Regions from separate parts of the Homo sapiens genome. Here region 2 is linked to region 1. Evidence: promoter capture Hi-C in 16 types of primary human blood cells and fetal thymus (Javierre and others, 2016). All regions are on one chromosome and are shown on one strand. Each heading gives the region's core, a stretch centred on a gene start or on the middle of the fragment in contact. The rest is flanking DNA. Distances are from core to core; before and after follow the strand shown. Region 1 holds the start of STX17 (syntaxin 17). Region 2 holds the start of GALNT12 (polypeptide N-acetylgalactosaminyltransferase 12).

What was found. The method cuts DNA at HindIII sites, captures the fragments that hold promoters and counts their contacts. A CHiCAGO score of 5 or more calls a contact.
Region 2: a contact is called between a fragment that was not itself captured here and the fragment with the promoter of STX17 in region 1, in 1 of 17 cell types (non-activated CD4 T cells). The highest score is 5.1, in non-activated CD4 T cells.

What each region holds. Positions count from the first base shown.
Region 1 is chr9:99,905,044-99,908,652 of GRCh38, reverse strand. STX17 (syntaxin 17) reads right to left here and starts at 1,999. Exons shown (of 8, transcript NM_017919.3): 1 at 1,947-1,999. STX17-DT (STX17 divergent transcript) reads left to right here and starts at 2,052. Exons shown (of 3, transcript NR_038853.1): 1 at 2,052-2,099. RefSeq lists an enhancer at 1,461-1,700 and a silencer at 1,861-2,260. The HindIII fragment of the contact is 1,410 bases long and covers 1,759-3,168 here.
Region 2 is chr9:98,804,728-98,808,336 of GRCh38, reverse strand. It overlaps GALNT12 (polypeptide N-acetylgalactosaminyltransferase 12), which reads right to left and starts at 667. Exons shown (of 10, transcript NM_024642.5): 1 at 268-667. The coding sequence starts at 638. LOC124902229 (a long non-coding RNA gene) reads left to right here and starts at 757. Exons shown (of 2, transcript XR_007061689.1): 1 at 757-1,566. RefSeq lists silencers at 526-595, 696-785. The HindIII fragment of the contact is 202 bases long and covers 1,699-1,900 here.

The DNA.
Region 1 (3,609 bases), core at 750-3,249:
TGGTACCAGAAAATTAGGAAGTTCCAAAAAAGAAAAAAAAGGATGGAAGCATGCTGAAAAGCTACAGAAAGCAACCTGAAAGAAAACTCCCAATGATCAAAGCTGGAACAATTTCAAACATAAAATAACACAAGTGTAGGATAACAACCAATAGAAAAACATCTAAGTCCACATGGATACAAATAAATAACGGAATACAAATAAACAAATGGGAAATGGGCAGCTCATCCTTACAGAATAATTTCAATTAATAAAGAAATGAGGAAAGTAGAAAATCATCATTAGAACACCATAGTCATAATAATTGCTGAAGGCAAGATCCACCAATGGATGTGAAATTTAGCAAGGGAAAGTCTGAGGAGAAACAGGATATGCGTACGGTTTAAAAGCTCCCCCCCAAGATGTCAATTATAAGGAGAAAAATAAGACCTTTACATTGGAGAATCCCAGCAGACACTCTCTACCAAGTGATCAAGATTAACCTCACGAGCAATAAGTCATATATATCAGCTATGCTCATATGATGAACTGAGAAGGGCACACACACTTTTGTGTTCTTAACAAAAATGTATAACCTTAATCTAATCATGAGAGAACACTGGACAAACCCCATTTGAGGGGCACTCTACAAAATAACTGACCAGCATTCTTCAAAAGTGTAAAGATCAGAAAGAGTATAAAGACAGAAAAAGACTATCAGTGTAAAGACAGGAAAAGACAGAGGAACTGTCACAGACTGGAGGAGACCAAGGACCCAAGACAACTAACTGCAATGTCGGGTCTTAGAGTGGATCCTAGAATAGAAAAAGGACATTAATACAGGAAAAAAAATCACAAGTTAGTAATTCAGTTAATAGTATTATACTAATATTAACTTCTTGCTTTTGATAATTGCGCTATGGTATGTAAAAAATTATTAATGGAGGCAATAGGGAACTCTGTATTACTTTTGAAACTTTTCTGTAATTTTAAAATTATTTCAAAATAAAAAAGTTTTTTAGTATAAGAGGATGTTTCACGTAAGACAGGTAAAAACATTTAGAAGTCAAAGAACTGCCATCGTATTCACTGCATTAATACTTGGAGAGAGGGGTGCCAGGACTGTGCCAGGTGCTTTACAAACTTTATCATGTAGTGCTTACAACTAATATGAGATGGGTACCATAATACTCATGTTTCCCAGTAAGTTACTTAGGAGGTTATTAATAAGTGAAAGACCCCATTTCTCAGGAAACCCAGCCCCCAAAAGTGACGAACACCTTCCATCGGCCCAGAGCTCCCACTTTTCAGGATACTAGTGGCGCCCGATTTCTTCCGGCCCGCCGCTTAATGTTTCTGACTTATGGAAGAGATACCGAATTTGGAGAGAAAAGTCAAAGTAAAGTCTCCTCTCTGAACCTCGGTTAGCTAAAAGGAGGGAGCCAAGGTGTGGGACCTTCTGCCAACCACCTCTGGGTTTGGCGAGCAGGGGCTTCCGGCCTCTCGCTCCCAGTCCTCCGAGCCTCACTACCATCGAGCGTCGCGTCATTCCTCGCAGTGTCACCCACAGCACACCTGGGCCACACACACCAAACGCCCCCACCAGCGAACGGATGCGCGGGTCTGTCCCGGGACCCAGACGCCAGCGACCCTGGCGACCCGGGGCCTACAGCGCGCCAGAGACAGGACGCGCGCCGGAAACTTTTCCACCCCGCGACCCCGGGAGGCCGTCCTGCTCGCATCGTCTGCGGCCTCCCTATACCAGCTTCCAATAAAGCTTCCAAAAACGAAACCAAGCGAGGCTCCGCCACTTCTGAAAAACAGGAGGAGCCACCATGGCGCTCGCACTTCGGATCCAATGCCCTACTTGCCGCCCAGCGCCTCTTGCGCGCGCCACACGGGCGCCAGGCCCACCAAGCCTGTGAGGGCCCGACGCCCCCAAAGGCGGCCTCCAGAGAGCCCCTTACCTCCCGCCGGGGCGCTCGAGGCCGGTCGGTGGGCACGGCGCAGGCGCAGGAGCGACGGGGCGGGGCATCACGAGGGGTGGGCAGGGTTGGGCCCCGCCCCCGCCCCCGCCCCCGCCCCGCAGGGCCCCCAGGCCGGGCGCTGGGGGCGCACAGGTGAGTACAAATGCGGACGCTGCTGAGAACAGCGAAAGCCTTTTTCAAAAGTGATATTGATTTACGTTATGGGGTTGTGACTCGAGCCAAGAGGAGAGAGACGCACAAACGCTCTTTAGGTCTGCTTGTTGTGTTTAAGACAATTCATGCTTGTATGGCCGACTGCATTTCGCAGTTTTCCTGTCCGTTTTCCTCTGTTCTTCCTAGAATTTTATTTGCGGGTTGGGCATGTATTCTTAGCTCTGTTTTGAAACTGAAGCTCAGAAAGGTGGTGCCTCCCCATCCCGTCCCCAAAAGCCCTGTGAAGTGGACAGGGCAGGAGTGCCATCTTAATTGCAACAGGTGTAAAAATTAAAGCTCAGCAAATTGTGGTTTCCTCCAAAAACTGGTGGAGGGCTTAAGGCAAACGTCTTTATCCCGATTTTATAGATTATGACTCTGGGGTTTAACAAAGAGTTTTAAGTGACTCACTCCAGTTCAGCCAGCTTATGGCAGAGCTGGAACTCCAACTGGGTGTCCTAATTTCCTTCCCAAGTTATTCCAGTTAGACCAGCTGCAACCACATGAACAAGCAGGTGGCCGGCTTTGAAGCCTTGTCCAAGTCACAGGTCCTCCTCTCTTCATGGCCTAACTTCCAGATCCAGCCCTTTTAAAAAGATGTCTGTGAATATTCAGATGACGTGCTTAGAATGTATTCACTAATGGCATTGTCTCAGAAGTGATCAGGATGTTCAAACCACAGTTAAGGAAACTGAGTTCTTAGGGTCTTCCAGTAGAGTAGGAGGTAAACAGGGAAGATTAGGGGCCTGTAGATCCTTTAAAAAGCCTTGAAAGACAATTTCTAAAACAAAGCACCAAATCTACCAAGCAATTTGGATTTTCTTTGGGGACATAATGTATACTGATATTTGTTTTACAATGAGCTCCAGAATGTATTTATCAAATTTTGATTCTAAGGAGAAAAATTAAAGTATTAGGCAATACTGTGAGAAAATGTTTTTTATGCAAGGATCAGTGAAATAAGATCTTTTGAAATAAAAGATCATTTGTGTTAAGTTCTGAAAAAGCTTCCTCAGGTACAAAATCAGGAGGTGTGGTACTCAAAGATTCTAAATTTGGACCTGGACTTCTAAGTTGTTATATGTATGTTTGCTGTAAGTTAGGTGTGTCAAAGTAGTAGGATAAACATTTTTTTTTTTTTTTTTTTTTTAGACAGAGTCTTGCTCTTTCGCCCAGGCTGGAGTGCAGTGGCATGATCTCAGCTCACTGCAACCTCCACCTCCCAGATTCAAGCGATTATCCTGTGTCAGCCTCCTGAGTAGCTGGGACTACAGGCGTGTGCCAACATGCCCGGCTAATTTTTTGTATTTTTAATAGAGACAGAGTTTCACCATGTTAGCCAGGATGGTCTTGATCTCCTGACCTCGTGATCCGCCCGCCTCGGCCTCCCAAAGTACTGGGATTACAGGTGTGAGCCACCATGCCCGACCAAAACCTTTTAATCTAACTG
Region 2 (3,609 bases), core at 550-3,049, 1.1 Mb after region 1:
AGGGAGATGATAACTTCTCAAGGAGAAGGGAGCTAAGAGATCACTAACAGACTTGCCAATTTCTGGTAATTTTTTTTCTACTTTCGTCTTTTTTACTTTCTTGCCTCCCCGCCCCCATGTGAGCTCTTACACTATCGTCTTCGGAGAAAGACTCAATAAGACGCGCCATCCTGGAGACCCCAGCTCCCCGCCCTGCCACTGCTCTGATGGAGAAACTGAGGCCCGGGGCTCTGAGGGCGGGCTTCCTCCCCAGAGCTGTGCACTCACAGCGGGTTCCAGCGCTCGGGCAGGCGGCGGTGCAGTGAGATGCGGTCGCTGAGGTAGATGTTAATCTGGTGCAGCCGCACGCTCTCCTCCTGCAGCCGCAGCTCCTCGCCCTGCAGCTGCAGCCGCACCGCCTCGCCCCGCGCGCCCAGCGCGTTCGCCGGCACCGGCGGCCGCGGCATGACCGGCTCGCGCCGCCCGGGGCGCGGGGTGCGCGGGGGTCCCGGCTCGGCAGCCCCGGCCCCGGCCCCACGCTGCGCCCGCAGCACCGAGCCCAGCCCGGCCAACGCCAGTAGCGCCAGGAGCACCAACAGCGCCTCCCGGCCGCGCCGCAGTTCCCGCGGGCAGCGCCGCCGCGCCGTGCGCCCCCACATGCGCCCGCCAACTGCAGCCAGCGATCTGCGCGCCCCAAGGCGGCGGTGGAGGCCAGGACCCGGATCCCGGAACCGCCGTGCCGCCCCGCCCCCGGCCCGCCCCACCTGCGCGCCGCCCCCTTTCCGTCCAGCCCCGCGCCAGCCCAAGCGCAGCCCCCGGGGTGGCTCATTTCGGCAGGGTCTTCAAGTGGGCTGGCTGAGACTTGCATCTTCCTTCTTGGGCTATGGTGCATTATTAAAGAGATAGTGGTGGTAAAACCCTTAGCGCCTGGCATATTGTAGGCGCTAAGTGTTGGCTGAATACACCCTGCAGGGTGTTATGAATTCTACTGCCATTATCTCATCTGATCTTTACACAGTCCAATAAAACAACCATCAACTAGGATTACGAGCTCCCTTTTACAGATGAGGAGATGGAGGTGCGATGAGATCAACAGACACCACGCTGCCCCACTGACTTCTGCAGGCCCAGCCTCTGCCATACTCTTTGGAGTCCTTGAATAGCAAACCCTCGCCTGGCTCGCCTCGTGATAGCTCTGTGACCTCTGAGGCTAGGAGCAAAAGGCCATGAAGGCTGTACATGATAGTTCACACCTGTAATCCCAGGCCGAGATAGGAGGATCACTTGAAGCCAGGAGCTTAAAACGAGACTGGTCAACATAGCAAGACTCCCATCTCTACAGAAAAATTTCAGAATTAGCCATGCATGGTGGCACGTGCCTATAGTGCCAGCTACTCAGGATGCTGAAGCAGGAGGATTGTGTGAGCCCAGGAATTGGAGGTTACCGTGAACTATGCGCCACTGCGCTGCAGCCTGGATGACAAAGCGAGATCCTGTTTCTATTAAACAACAACCAAAAAAGGCCATGAAGCTGCCGCCCTGTTCATGAGATCACTGCTGTGGGAGCCTTGAGCTGCCAGGGACGAAGTAAGTCTAATGGAGTAGACAAATATTAAAAAGATAATTAGAATTGTGTTAAGTATTTTGAAGAAGAATTACAGGGCGCTAAAAGGGCTTAGAATAGTAGAACTTGATCTAGTTTGGGGGTTTTGGAAAGCTTCTCTGATGAAGTAATGTCTACACAGATATCTGAATGTAAAAGTGATAGCAGAGATTTCAAATCATATCTTAAATTAATCTGGAACTCCCTCTGCTGGTGTCTAGCTCAGGGAAAAGAATCATTCTGTATCCCCTGTAGAAGGATAGAGTGTAAGCTCTATTTGTTGTTGTTTGTTTTACCATGGGAAGTTGGTCCAAAGCTTTTTATCAAATATTCTCAAGGAGACCAGAAGCCCAGAAAGTTTAAAAAGCACAAATCTGGTCCAATTATCTCATTGATAAATGCGGGGTCTGAGACACAGGGTGGGGAGAGGACCTTGAACTTGGCGGCTCAGGTAGAGGTAGAATCTGACTTGCTGTTGTCTTCATACAGCCTTTGGCTACTGGTATCCCCAGAGGAAATCTCCCTCAGGTTGCAGGAGGGGGGTGGGTTTTGGGATGAACCATGCAAAGCAGCTCCCACTCAGGACAACCTGCTGCTAATATTAGACTAGAGGGAAGTGGCTCTTCCCACAGTGCTCAGGGCCCCGCCTGCTTCCCACGCAGAATGGAGGCTGCTGGTTAATGCCAGAAGGCGGTTGTGTTAGGTAGGTCTGGACCTGAGCCCTTTGGCCTCTGTTCAGACACCCAACACATTTAAGATCTGCGGTCAGATTAGAAAACAGACAAGGATTACAATTCATAATGTCTTGGATCCGCTTGCCAAATTGGAATGCTTCTCAATAGAGGTTCAGATACAGAGAAAAGAGAAATGCAATTAGGCCTTACAAGACATGGACTTAAGCCCCAGGTAACAGATAAAAGCTATTGTTTACTGAGCACACACTGTGTGCTGTAAACTGCTGGACTTTCTTTTTCATGTACTTTCTCATTTCACCCTATGACAACCTTGCAAGGTTGACAGATGAGAATATGTAGGCTCAAGAAGTGAAGCAACTTGCCCAAGGTTACACAACATGCAAGCGGTAGAGGGAGGATTTGTATCTGGGTCTCCTGACTCACAGTCCAGGATTTCCCACCACACCACTCACTGTTGGGCAGGCTGCAATGAGATGCAAAGGCAGCTTAGCTTAGGAGGTCGGAACACAACCTTGGAGCCCACTTGCCTGAGCTCAACCCAGCCCCATCACGAATTGCAGTGTGACCTCAGGCAAGTTGCTTTACTTATCTCGGCTCAATTTGCTCATCTATTAAATGGTGATCTAATGATAGCACCACCTGAACAGGGTTGTTGAGAAGATTGAGTGATACAGTCTGCACAGTCAGCCTCCCGGGGCACAAAACAGAGTGGAGAGAGTGTCAGTAAGGCAAAGGGAAGATGTCCAGCACCTTGCTGAGTGAAGTATGATATTTAGACCAGAAGCATTGGTACCACCTGGGAGCTTGTTGGAAATCTAGCATCTTTTCAACAGAGGTAAAGCCCTTGGGTTTATTGCTATTTTTAGGGGGCTTATCTGTTCACTAACAGTACCATGTTATGTCATCGGCTGCTCACCAACAAGTAGATATCTCTAGAAGATGCTTTTAATTTGTCATATTAGCTCTCTTCATAGGAGTTATTACATTCCTTTTAGAGTTTAATATGATCTATGGTAGATGTGGTATTTCAAATATTAGTGGGGAACATGTGCCTAATTCAAGTAATAATTGGGACAACTTGATAACCATTTGGAAAAAATTCAAATCAAGTCCCAACATCACACTTTACATCAAAATAAATTCCAAATGATCTGAAGATGCCACAGTAAATAAGCAAAAAAAGGAAGGAAGGAAGGAAGGGAAGGGAAGGAATTTAATTATAAAAGTATTGAATGAGAAAAACCAGAGACCATATGGAAAATATTTCTAAATGTGACTATATAAAAATTTTGAATTCTGTAAGGCTTCCAGTATAATACAAAGTCCAGAAAC